Regions from separate parts of the Homo sapiens genome. Here region 1 is linked to region 2. The links are contacts of gene promoters, found by promoter capture Hi-C in human tissues and cell types (Jung and others, 2019). All regions are on one chromosome and are shown on one strand. Each heading gives the region's core, a stretch centred on a gene start or on the middle of the fragment in contact. The rest is flanking DNA. Distances are from core to core; before and after follow the strand shown.

The links. The method cuts DNA at HindIII sites, captures the fragments that hold promoters and counts their contacts. A contact is called where the count stands out against the background at its distance.
Region 1: a contact is called between a fragment that was not itself captured here and the fragment with the promoter of GRM8 in region 2, in 2 of the 25 tissues and cell types used here (aorta and bladder).

Annotation. Positions count from the first base shown.
Region 1 is chr7:127,147,889-127,154,655 of GRCh38, forward strand. The region is part of intron 2 of GRM8 (glutamate metabotropic receptor 8); the gene reads right to left. Among named protein-coding and RNA genes, the nearest start is that of GRM8-AS1, 64 kb to the right of the region's middle. The HindIII fragment of the contact is 4,065 bases long and covers 1-3,732 here.
Region 2 is chr7:127,247,092-127,254,264 of GRCh38, forward strand. It overlaps GRM8 (glutamate metabotropic receptor 8), which reads right to left and starts at 5,850. Exons shown (of 11, transcript NM_000845.3): 1 at 5,706-5,850. RefSeq lists an enhancer at 6,688-6,937 and a silencer at 7,058-7,117. The HindIII fragment of the contact is 12,389 bases long and covers 1,145-7,173 here.

The DNA.
Region 1 (6,767 bases), core at 450-2,949, 100 kb before region 2:
GTAAGCTTTGTTGTTTGAAAAGATAACCTATCTACTATTGCCCATCTTCGAACTCAACTCTTCAACACATTAATGTGGCCCATCCCCTTGCCATTGAACCAGCATCATCTGGAAACTTGTTGAAGATACAGAGTCTCAGGTCCCACCTTAGACCCACTGAATCAGATTCTGTATTTTAACAAGATGCCTCCAGTGATTTGTAGACATGATAAAGTTTGAGAAGCCTTGACCTTCCCCATACTAGGCATGAAATATTCTACAAGGAATATCTCTTAAATGGGTGCAACAGAGTCGATTCAGGTATCTCTACTTCTGCCCAATCCAATCCACCAATTAGAAAGCAACTTTTCCACTAAAGAAGTTTAAGGGATCAATTCATCAAGAGGACATGGCTATTGTAAATATATATGCACCCCACACCAGAGCACCTAAATACATAAAGCAAATAATGGACACGGGGAAATAGATAGCAATACAATGATCATAGGGGACTTCAATACCCCACTTTCAACAATAGATAGATGAAGCAAAAAAAAAAAATAATAAGGAAATACTGGACTTGAATAGCACTTTTGACCAAATGGGCCTAGGAGACATAGACAAAAATTTCTGTCCAACAGCAGTATAATACATGCACATTTTTCTTCAACACACATAGAACATTCTCCAGGATAGACCATATGTTAGGCCACGAAACAATCTTAACAAATTTAAGAATACTGTACTCATATACAGTATTGTTTCAGGCCACAGTGGTATGAAACTAGAAATCAGTAACAGGAAGAATCTTGGAAAATTCACTAATATGTGGAAATTAAATAACATGCTCCTAAACAACCAATGGGTCAAAGAAGAAAGCAAAAGGAAAACTTAAAAATAACTTAGGACAAATGACAATGCAAACACAGCATAGTAATTTTTGTCAAGGGCACCAAGGGAAAACAATGGAGAAAGGTGAGTCTTCAACAAATGGTGCAGGGAAAACTGGATTTCCACATGGAAAAGAATGAAATCAGACCTTTATCTTACACCACACACAAAAATCAACTCTAAATAAAAGACCTAAACATAAGACCAGAAACTATAAAACTTCTAGAAGAGAAGGAGCAACAGCTCATGGACATTGGCCTTGATGACTTTTTGGATATCACATGAAAAGGTCAGGCCACAAAAACAAAAATAAATGAGACTACATCAAACTAAAAAGCTTCTGTACAGCAAAGAAAACAATCAACAAAATGAAATGACAGCCTATAGATTGGGAAAAAAAATACTGCAAACTATATATCTGATAAGGAGTTAATATCTAAAATGTATAAAGAATTCATATATTAATAGTAGAAAACAAATAACTCAATTTTAAAAAGACCTCAATAGACATTCTCCAAAGAAGACATAAAAATGGCCAATAGATAGATGAAAAGATACTCAATACCATTAGTCATAAGAGAAATGAAAATCAAAACCACCATGATATACCACTTCACACCCATTAGAATGGTTATTATCAAAAAGTCAGAAGACAACCAATGTGGGCAAAGGTATGGAAAAAGGGAACTCATACACTATTGATGGGAATGCAGACTGGTATAGCCATTATGGAAAAGAATATGGAGGTTTCTAAAGAAATCAAAAATAGAGCTACCATATGACCTAACAATCCCTCTTCTGGGCATATACCCAAGGGAAATAAAATCACCACTTTGTAAAGACATCTGCACTCCCATGTTCATTGCAGCATTATTCCCAACAGCCAAGACAGGGAAACAACCTAAGTGTCAGCTAATGGACAGATGGCTTAAGAAACCGTGGTACAAATATACAATGGAATATTGTTCAGTCTTAAAAAGAACAAGATTCTACTTGCCACGACATGGATGGGACTAGAGGGCTAAGTGAAATAAGGCAGACACGGGGGAAAAAAATCACATGACCTCACATGTGGAATCTAAAAAATCAGAGATAGAGAACAAAACAGTGGTTATGGGGTCAGGGTGGGGGAATGAAGAAATGTATGTCAGAGGATACAAAATAGCAGGTATGTAGAATGAAGAAGTCTAGAGATCTAATGTACAACATGAAGGTCATAGGTAATAAAATTGTACTCTATATGAGATTCATGCTAAATGAGTGCTCTCACCACAAAAACAAAGGGTAACTATGTGAGATAATGGATACATTAATTTGCTTCACTATAGTAACCTTTTTACTATCCACATGTATCCCTTAACATGTTTTATACCTTGAATATATACAATACAATTTATTTTATAAATAAATAAAATTCTATTTCCCTTGCCTCAATGAAACAGGAAAGAAGACAGGCATAGAATGGAGGGCTCATATGAAAGAAAAATTCTGCCTCCTGGAAAACAATTGCTAATGAATTGGTATTTGACAGCAGAGGCATTGCAATGGCAGGGACTTCAAAAGGAGGCTGGTCACTGAAACCAGTGGCTGTTCTCAAGACAGTGGAACAGGAGCACATGGACATGCAGGAGGGCTCTGTAGAAGCCAGGAGCCACCAGAACCTGACCAGAAAAGAAGACAAAGGCATCAGGCTGTCCAAAGTCTTAATGGGGAAAAACTGGAAATTTAAATCAAAGCCCTACTGGCTCTCTTTTGCACTCAGTGTTGGTGGTGCCCAGTGCTACACTAAGCACTCTACCTACCTCATTGACAACGACTATAATAGACCATAAGTGTTATTATTCCCATTTTGCAGACGGGACAACTGAAAAAAACAGAAAGACTGTAAAAGTCACATCCCAAACACACCACTTAAAGTGATGGCATGGGATTCAAAATGAATCCCACTCCCAGTTCTGTCCTCAACCTCTATGCTCTACTGCCTCCTTCTGTTCAAGGAGAGTAGAGTCTGTATGGGTCTTATTACACAGTGTGGGCCCACCATTCTCAGCTGACCCTTGGGTTGGCTTCATAAAGCCCAGAATTAGAGAAACCCTCCAGATGTTAGTACACACCTGTATCTGAAGTAGGTAAGCCCTGCCTCAAAAACAAGATTGCTATCATGGTGAGTCTATGAAATGCTGTCTTAAGAAGGTTGTTGTTTTTTTGTTTTTTGCAGTTTGTACCCATCAGGTTTTAGCAGAACAACAGGTTTTAGCTATACACATTGGGTTTTAGCAGAAATGAAGCACTTTCCTTCCTTGGGGAACAACATATGCTGGCATCGCTAAGTGTGTGGCTGCCTGGCTCCTTGGTACACAAGGACTCTGTAGGAGGTCAGGCCTCCTTAGGACAGCACTGGAGACTCTATACTCCAAAAGTCTCTCCACCTGGCCTAGAGGGTATGTTTTTAGTCCTCACAGGTTATGCTATTCCAGATCCTTCTCCAGCCTTGACCTCCATAGAGAAAATCACATGACACACTTCAATAAACTCAACCACCTAAGGGTTCTTGTGGTTCTTGACCATACAGACCAACCACCTCCAGCAAATCTCCCACTAGCAAAAAGCAACTTATCTCTTCCATGGATCTTCCTCGGATTTCTACCATTTCTTATCTAAGGACCTCTTATTTCTTCCAAAGATCTGTTTGTGTCATAAAAGAAAAAACACCCCAAAACCCAATTATGGATGGTTGTGAAAAGCCATGTCAAATTAAGGGGATCATCAACAACGTTTTCTACAGTTCACATAGGAGGCGATCGGGATGCTGTTCAGTCACGCTGCAACATCTGCCTTTCATTATCATTATCGTCCTCACAGAGTTCTTGAGCCCCTGAGTTTACGGCTTTCTACTGGGATTTTAAGAAATACACAGAGATGTATCAAAAGTTGAACCTGTGTATTTACAGAGAATCTCAGAGAAAAATCTCTTCCGTATGATAAAAGGCCTAGGGACTTGTACTTTACAGAATACAAATCTAAAGAAGAGATATTATGTGCCTTGAGAGCTTGTTAGAAAGCTAGATGTTACACTTTTCTTCTCTTGGAACTACTGAATGTAGATTATAGTCTATATTCTGAGGTTTTGTAGGTTTCTCTTTTGCATTCCAAAGCCTTTAATTCTGTAGATTAAAAAAAGAAGTTAATATTAGATGTTCCTAGTCCCCTTTAAAGTTACTTACGATTTCTCACTTGCCAATTGTTGAATTTTCATGTTTATTTTTAGTGTTGAAAATAGGGAAACTGCTATCTGTCCTTCACTTCCTGCCACCTTAGGGAAAAGTGAACAAAGAGTAGAGAAACTACAGAGACAGGGAAGACAGCAAGACAGACAGAGTGGGAAGGGGCCAGAGCATATGTTTTAAGTCATTCAGGCCTAGTTCCCATGTGAGTTTTATCACTTAGTGAGTAAACTTGAGCAAGTTCATTAACCTCTTTGAAACTCATTTTCCTCATTTCAATCACCTTGCAGGAGCTGGTCTAAGGGTATATAGCAATGCAGGTAAAGCACTTGGCACAATACAGAAATCCAAACTATGACATACAGGATGATGGTGGTGGTGGTTAACAGGCAAAAGTGGCAAGACAGGGCAGAGAAGGTGAAGGTAGCAAAGTGAGAAAGAAATACTAGATATGGTTTTCCCTAAAATCCAAATATAAGCATGATTGAGAGTATCTATGGCAAAGGAAATATTCTACCAACCTGATTAACAACTTCATTCTGCTTTGAAAGACACTCAACCTGGATTGCAAATTCCATGAGAATCAGCAGACTAGCTAATCTCATTTCAGTTTATCTCCACAGTAATCAATAATTGATCCCAGGGGAAGGTCAGCCTAGTGTCCTTAGGTGACTCTTCCTTTGCCAATTTGTTTTGAGCTCTCTTTATACAAGAGTGTAGGTATTATGATACAGAGATTATTTCTTTAAATTGGAGATGCATCTGATGACACTTGGAGAAAACCATCTAAAGATCACCAAAGGAATTTACCAAAAGGTAAAACCATGAATAAAAATAATTTTCAGACATGTTTCATAGGACTACAGTTCAACTGTTATATATTACTTATGTTCTTAATAGTTTGGAACCACTTGTCAGTCAAAATTAAATCATAGGCATTCCATTTGTAGAACAAATTAGTCAATCTTATTTGCATGAATCACAAAATTCTTACAGCTCTTCATTTTCTTAAAGTATTTAACACCCTCCCCATTTTCTCAACGTGAATATCAGGGTACATTAGTCACAAGACCATAACCCAATTACTTAAAGGGCATATTACATAAATGATTACACAACCTGCTGTGAAATACTGTATCTTTAGCATTTGGACCACTTGGGACATTGAGAGGAAGGATTCATTAATGAAGTGTGAAGCTCATTTTTATTTATAGTCCACAGGAAAGGCATATTTCACAGCCATCAGAAGCACTTCTGCAGGCAAGAAGTTACAGCTAATCCAAGTGCTATACCAAGCTAGTACAAGTCCAATCCTGGTGTCCCTGGCAGTCAGAAATGTTGTAAAGGGGAAAGGAATTTTATAAAAAAATTGATAGCACAAGGAGTATGAGAATGTAGAAGATCAAATCCAGACCACAGCCGAAACCTTGATAGGAGGGACACATGATGAATTAGCCTATAGGCTGAAAGGTCTGGAGGAAGTTGTGATGGTATGGGTCAGATATCTTCCACTTCCTCTGTGAAGTAGTAGAAAGTCATTTTTTGAGAAAGCGGAAGTGGGGAGAGTGGTGACTTGAAAGAGTCACTTTGGGATATGGTAGAGCAAGTTAATTGGGAAATAGCGGATAATTAGGCAATTTGAAGTTGGTGACTATGAACTTTGAGAAGCATCAAATCTCTCAATCCATTTCTGTCAATTTACCCTACTACTGAATGATTTAATTCATTTTGTGTCACCAGCACCTAGCACAGCTCCTGGCACAAGGTAGATGCTCATATTTGACTCAATTAGAAATGGCAAATATCTGAATTGTCTGAACACAAACAGTAAATGGTAAATAAATACTGGCCTTCTTTTAGGTTTGCAAAACACAATTGATTTGATAGTGAAGGCCAACATATACATAAAGAAAAACCAGAGGCCTCGATTTTACATTCAAGGTAGGTCACTGGTACACAGGAAGCCAGCTGAGGAGAGGTACAAGTGAGGGGACGTGAGGAGCACGGGTGGTGAGTATGAGATGGCTGCCCAGTCACCTCTGCTGAAAACCACCTTTGAGAGTAGCAGGATTCTAGAAACAGGATCAAAAGAATCAGTGTAGCACCATATATCACTGCCTCTGTAAGAAAACTGTGCTTGTCAACCTGGAGTTTGGGGAAAAGCTTTAAAGGAAACCTGTCATTCTGTACTCCAGCTTCCAACTTTGCAAAAGGCACTTTTCCTTGGAACTCAGGCAGAAAAATAATAAATCACGCCTAGCTCTCTTGCTCAGGATCCAGTCCCGGTTCCCCACCTGTAGTTCCCTCCAGCTGCTTCCTGCTACTTCCATTCCTGCACCTTATGCTCCAGCTATTCCAAAGTACTTCCTGGCTTAAAACACCAAGTGATGTTGTAAGTCCCAAGCTTTGTAAGTGATGTTCTCTCTCACTGGAGTCCTTTCTCTCCCCAGCCCCTTCCATTATAAATTCCCACTCCTCCTCCTCAGATGTCTCTTCTTCTACAAAGCCTGTCCCGCCCCTTTCACAGAGTAAAGAAGCCCACCCCTACTGTGTCCCTGAACGTGGCTTTAGGCATGGAAGAAACTACATTTAACCTTTGTTCCCCATAACTTGAAAAGCAACTGGCACATCATAGATTCTCAATGCATGTCTGTTGAATTGAGTTTTACTGTT
Region 2 (7,173 bases), core at 4,600-7,099:
GGAAGAACACTAACATATTAATTAGGAAGGGACAATCTGGGGGCATTTCCAGGGAGGTGATTTCTGAATCTCTCAAAGGGCTGAGAAGATCCAATGCGGTTTGTCCAAACACTTCTGCTCCAAATGAGGTCTCCTGGCCAGGTTGATGTCAAGGTGATGTCAGGTGGAACACACCCACCAACGCATGCAGGGTCTCTCTGGGTCTGCCATCACATCTTCCTTGGGCATTTAGCAGGTATGATTAAAATATGATAGGGTAAAATCCTCACTGAGGAATACCATTATCCAAGAATTGTAATTTTTTTCTCATAAAAAGGCCAAAGCAGCATTCCTATGCTGCATTCCATTCAGCTCTTTAACAAAAAGGTTAAGCTGAATATTCTCATCAATTCATATGACTGCTCACACTTGCAGCTCTTTTGGTTGTTTTGAAAATGCATCGTATTTCTGTATCATCTCCCATGCTGCAATATGTGTGCATGTCTATGGATTCTTGGTGGGGCAGAGTGAGGATGGGGCAGACAGAGCTCTCCCTTGGCAACAGACGCTTGGAATCGGATCTTTGTCTGACAGTCACTGGCTGGTAACACTGAACATGTCCCCTCACCCCTATGTGCTTCCATTTCCTCATCTGTGAAACGAGTGAGATGGACCACGTGATCTCTAAGGTGTCTTCCAGCTTCCTATTCTGAGATTCTATTACTTAATAATAAGGGAATATGAGATTATGCTCAAACATCAGAGCAAGGCTTTGCCAACTGAACACAATAACTGATTTTGTTTGCAAGTTGAGTGACTTTTTTTCATCAGTGAGAGGATTGTGAAAGCTCTTCTACACAAGCCAGCCTCATATTTTAAAAAATCTGATACAGGAGAAGCTCGACTTACTAAACAGATAAATTGGAAAGTAATTATTTGCATTACAGAAGAATTCACCACAGGTTTCCTTTAAATAGCTAAATCCCAGGCATTTAAAAAAAAATCTGATTTAGGAGAATTCAATTTGTGCCTTTATTTTTCCAATAACACAGCTATTGCACAAAAAGACCATATTTAAAGTAATGAGAAGCTACTTTTTATAATATGTATCAGATAAGAAGAGAGAAAGTGGGTGACATCAACACTTACTGATTGCCTGCAGTGTGCCTGGAGCTGCAGACACATTATTTCATTTCCCTCTAAAATACAACTATGAGGATGGTATCACAGCCTCCATTCAGGATCTAAGGAACCTGAAAACAGAAAGATTATATGACTGTGTCTAAAGTCTCAGGCGAGAATTCAAATGCAGGACTGCCATTATGTTCCTTCCCTTACTCCATGCCCCATGGGGGCAGGAGGCCATGCTGGATCTCAAACTAACCCTGATTTGATAATGAGGACTGGGAGTGAGATGTTCTAGAGTCCTAGGAGACACTGATTCTAGTCTTACTTCCCCCAGTACTCACTGTATAGCACTGGGCAAGTCACTTAACCAGATCTCAGTTTCTTGGTTTCTAAAATGGGGAATGATTTTCCCCCATCTCCCAGTTTGTGAAATCCAACAATATAATGTGTGTCAAAGTACTTTATAAACTGCCAAGTGCTATAAGAATGCACAGGGATACTATTAGTCTAACAATCTGTCCTAGAACTAAAATATGTTACTGGTGTATTGTACTTAGAAGATCTAAGAAAACCACTTTCTCATCACGCTTGGGTCTAGTCAGACCTTAACAACGGTCACAGGTCCAAAAAAAGTCAACCCTGGCAAGCCTATATGGAGAGCACAGAGCTTGAAGGAAAACTGGAAAGGACGCAAGAAGAAGTCAATGGAACTACCATGCCTGACCTGGAAAACTAAAGGTCATGGACACTGAGCATCTAAATCGCTATTCTGAAGAAAGTGGTGACAAGATAATCTCCTGTTGTGAAAACAAGACAACCGGAAACCTTCCTAAGTTGTAGGTACAATATAATGCTTCTACCGCTGGGTCATGACCACTGGAAAAGTCAGCCAATAAATAGCCAGCAGCTTTCTAGCTTTAGGCATAACCCTGCCTGGAAAAGTATGAAATTGGCAACACATGTGTCCAACAATCTATACTCCTCTGAGGGCTCTCCTAGATATTCCTACTTCTGTTCACCTCCTGCCCTGCCCTGCCCTGCGCTGACCTCCCCAGAACTAGGTCTCTTCCTTCCCTCAGTGCCTTTGTTCTTTCATTACCTTGGCCCTCCCCAGGGAGTGAGTGGATTCATTAGCAGGTATCAAAGCCTGAAGATGCATTACTGTCATCCCCAAATGGAACATCTGCATTCTCAAAATGATTCCTAGGAGAGCCATAATTTATTTACCAAAGAAATATCACCATTAATAATGGTTAAGGCTAGCAATGCAACAAGCCAGAGCAGAGAGCTAGGAGTCAGGAGCGTCTCAACAGTACCTCTCAAATCATTCCAACAGCATTGCCCACCACTGAGAAAGGGTGTCCTGGGATGAGACAATATTATGCTCAGCGTCCCTCCCAGTGAGTGGGTGAGTTTGTCGCAATTTGTCAAATTACCAAGTAGAAATGAAAATCAAAGAAAAAAGAGAGAAAGCCCAAATCTAAATTCCAATTCCTAGCAGAAAGAAAACCCTCTCTTGAAATGGAAACAATAAGCCAGCCAACTCTCAGCTCATAGCCTCTCCTGGGAACAACATGAAGTGGCCGTCCCTATTGAATGAACCACATTTGTGAGTCTGGGGATGCCCAGTCAGAGTCTATCAAGAAAACAGCAAGTTTCCTGAACCTCCGCAAGCCAGCCAACTTGACAGACATGGAGATGTGGCCAGGTCTTGGCTGTGGGTCCAGGAAGAGAGAAATTCAAGCAGCATCTTCTTTTAAGACACTGGGACAGAGCAACTCCACTCCCCCCAACTAAAGCAAGGTCATCTTTATGATGGGCATTCTAACTACCTGAGAAAGGTGGTAGGAAGGAAACTTGGAAGGAAAAAAACATGTGTGTAGTGTGCTGTACATCGTGCCCTGAAGACAATGGAACATTCATACACAAAGATTGGCACGCAATTGCCAATGTGAATGTCAGACGGGTTATTTGCTGCATAAATACCAATTAAACAAGCCCCGCAGCAGCTTCAACCTGCTCAGCCAACTTTGAAAAGAGCACATCTCTCCAGACCTCTAACTTTCTCCTGCACTCACTGGAGCTCAGCTCTTCCTTTTCTCTATTCCTTTTGGATGTAGATGTTTTTAGAATTATTCAAGCAGCCATAACTTTCGAACGGTGCATAACAGGGCAGAACTAGCTAGCACAATCCAAACAGAACAAATTGAGCCTAAGGAACAGTATACAGCTGTGTTCTCAGTATCTTCTTCTTTATTCCGGGTCAATTGTCTCCTACAAAGCCTCCCGTCATCTATTTCTCCCCACATCCCTTATTCAAAAGCAAGAATTCTCTATCTTAGACATGGTACAACCTGTAGTTGACTCTAAAATGGAAAAATTGCATTTTAAAAAACCTTGGTTCATTTTCCCTGACGGAGGAAGCTTTTCTTTTCAAAATTATCAAGCCACACGTTTTCAAGAACCAGAGAATGAATTGCACACAGCTGATTCTGCCTCCTACAGAGATCTTTCACGGTATTATTCACAAGCAAGTGACCAAGGTAAACTAAAGTGGTTTCTGTAGCCATTTGCAATTATTGACAAACAATTTCATAACGGAAAGTGGAAATTACAGGCAAGTGCAATAAGCTGTTTATCCACGATCTACCTGCTGGTGGCTCTTTTTCTCTATTTTTCTTTCAAGCAAAATACAAGCTACCATAGGAATGCTTTTCTCCCGTTCATGATTTTTCTTGTATCTCCACCACCAACCCTGTTTTCCAGTTCTGTCAGTTGGCAGGATTTGTATTCAATCGCGGTAGTAGCCCAGACTCTAGTGTATTCTTGGGTGTTCCAGAGACTCCCGCACCTTCAGGTTTGTGGGAAAGGATCCCCCAAATGGCAAATAAGGCACTCCCTCCCGGGGTGGGACTTGCTTAGGGGACTTAAGGGTTTCTGCAACCGGCGAGGGGGTCTGTTTTCACCCCCGCTATCTTGGGTGCGCAGACACTCTCTGACACCAGGCTTCACAGTTTGGGCCACGGGGGAAGTAATTCCCCAGGGAACCGCGGGGGTGCGGTTTTGCGCAACTGGGTGACTCGCGTGTCCCTCCGCATTTCATTTGCACCAAGGGAGCGCGTGTCAGACGAAGGGAATTTTTTTTTCTTTTTTGGTGATTCTGTTATTTTTTCACCAACTGTACGAAGCTCAAGGGATATCCGAGCTTTCTGGCTGGGCGGATGGGCTTCGCGCTTGGCATGGCTGAGCGGTCCATCTCTACCTCTCCGTTTCTATCTCTACCATAACAGCGACCACTCAGCCCGCCAGGAGCCCCTGTTTCCCAGCGCAGGTTCCTTTTTCTTCTCAGTTCCTTGGGCTGTTGAAGCCGGGTTCTGGGTAGATAGAGACTGGGGCCGTGGGGAGAGCGCCAGGCTGCTTTTGCCTTTCCCGCGCCCCGGGGCATTCCGGCGCGCTGGGGATGCAGCCTCCGCCCCCGCCGCACCTGGCCGCCCGAGCGCCCGCGCCCACGCCCCGCGCGGGGCCGCCCGAAACTGGGGCCGCGCCAGCCGCGGGAGCTACCGAGGAGCTGTTGGGGTGCGTTTGCCTTTGCTTTTTAAACAAGATCCCCGAGACCTTTTCTCCATCCCCCCAACCCCCAGCAGGACACGGAACTCCGGCGTTTCTCGAAAGCCACAAAAGAGGGGCACGGAAATCCCAAGCTCGCCGTGCTAACTCGGAGAACGCAAACTCGAGGCAGAGCGTGCGCCGTGCGGGGATGTGGGTGTCGAGGACCCCGAAGCGCCCGGCTTCCCCCGCGACCCCCATCCTCCCTAGATCCTGGTTAGACATCCATCCAGCCCACGCTCAGAGGGCGGGGGTTACCCCGACTCATCCCGGAAGCCGCTAACTTCAGAAATCCCTCCTGTTAGGTTCGCGAAACGAAGGTACCTCGTCATCTCGGCGGGGCAAGTCCGGATTCCACCAGGGCAGGTCCGGGAGGTCACCCAGGGCAGACGATCCGAGGCAGAGCGCTTTAAAATCCTGCCGCCGCACGCCCAGTCAGAGCGCCGAGCGCGCCTGCCCCCTTCCCGTCACCCTTCAGTCTCCCATTCGCCGACTAAACTTTTGGGGGATCACATCTCCAAGCCTTGGGAGTTCCGGGTAAAGTCTCCCTCTTTTCTGAACCTCTTTACTGTAATGTAATCATGGGCAGACAAGAGGGGTGGCTGCCTTGTTCTTTGCAACGTAAAATCAACAGACACCCAATCAAGCTCCAATGCCCGGCCAGCCCCTCGCCCCCTGGTGCCCACTCTCCTTCTCCCCCCATTCCCGTCACCTCCGCCCGCTATTTCTCTCACAGACTACGGACATGCAGGGCCATCTACTTGTGCTCAGGAAAAACAAATCACTAGAGTGATATGAGAAGGAATGGTGCACCTGGCTGTCCGCTGAAAGGTTTTAGAGAAGAAAACGGAAAGGGGAATAAAACGGGGGGATTCTCCTTTTCCAACAAGCAGGGCGTTTTGGGGAAGTTTGGGGGCCAGGGGCTTTTTGTCCCGTGGTTCGGCACTTGCTTTCCTCGGAGCCGCTTTCTGCTGCCGGGCGGCGAGTCTTACCCTGCTCCCCGCAGAGGGCGCGGTGAGGAAGCCCGCCGGGGGCCCGCAGCTCCATGTCAGCGCCGCCGCCGCCGCCGCCGCCGCCGCGTGAGGCGAGCACAGCGGCCGCACTTGTGGCTGATCTCTGGGCTGAGGGGGCTGAGCTGGCCTAGCAGGCGCCAAGTCTCTTCCATGTGAATAACAAATACTCCCACCGGCGGCCGCGATTGGTCTGCGCCCGGCGCCTCCCGATCCTCCGCCCGCGGCCATTCACCCGGCGCGGCGCGGGGAGCCGCGGCCAGGATCGCGCCCGGGATCGCCAATCGCTTCGCGCCAACCAGTCACCTCGGGAAGCGGGAGGAGGAACCCCCGAGGGGCGGGAGCCTCTGGATTTCGGTGTCACCCAGCGGCCCTGGCGCGGGCAGGGAGGGGGACCCTCGGCCCGCGGATCCCCCTCCGCTCTTCAGCCTGAAGCGACGAGGAGACCAGAAATGTCAATAGTTCTGATTTTTAAAAATCATCCCCCCTTCCCCGCCCCCAAGAAAAAGGGGAGGACCCAACTACAGAGTGAGAGGGTGGGAAGAAGCGGGAGCGGTAGAAGAAGGAATATGGTTGTGGAGGAGCCCAGCGGCTCCGGCTGCCTGGCGAGCCCGGGACCGGCGCGGGGAGGCGCGACGCCCGCCCGAGCACAGCGGGCAGCACCCGCGAGCCCGGGTCCCCGGTGAACACAGCTCCAGAAAGCGTCACCGAGAATAACACATGGTAGATGACAAGTGTCCCGCCACATGCTTTCTTTTCGGGAATGCTTAAAGTAGAGCCGGCAAGCCGCGCGGTTCCCTTGCAAAGTTTGCCTGGCGCCGCGCGGCGGTTCCGCCATTTGTCCCGCCCCGCGGCTCTGGCGATTGTCTCCCCACTCCCCGCCCCCGAGGGTCTGAGGGACGCGTGCAACAGAGTCCCCAGGGCTCGAGGTACCACACAGCGCGGTCCGCTGCGGGCACTGCGCAGGAAGGGGCATGGGTGGCTACCGGGACGGTCATTTTATTGAGATGATTCAAGGAGCCGCAGACGCGGGGCAGGAAACTCCGGGGGAGCCGTGCTCGGGTTCTGCAGGGAAACCTCGGGATTCCCTTCGCATGCCGCATGCGGAAACCTGCCGGGCTCGACGTGCACAGTCCAGCGCTCCTCCCCACTAGTTACTGCCCAGGCCCCCCGATCCTGCACCCGCCGGAATGAGAGAAAGTAGCCCCTCGCCGCCCAGCTCCCGGGTAGCTGCTCCGGCCGGGCCTTGCGTTGGTGAGAAAGTTCCATCTAGAGGCGGCCGCGCGCAACTGCAGGCGGCGCCCTAGGCCCGGGCGAGCCAGGGAGAGCGGGGCGCGGGGGGAGAGGGGGCAGCCCAGGAGATAAGGAGGATGGAGAAGGACGGGAGAGACCCCGAAAAGGCAAGCTCTAGACCCCCGTTCGGCATCTCTACAATGAATTTTATCTTCCT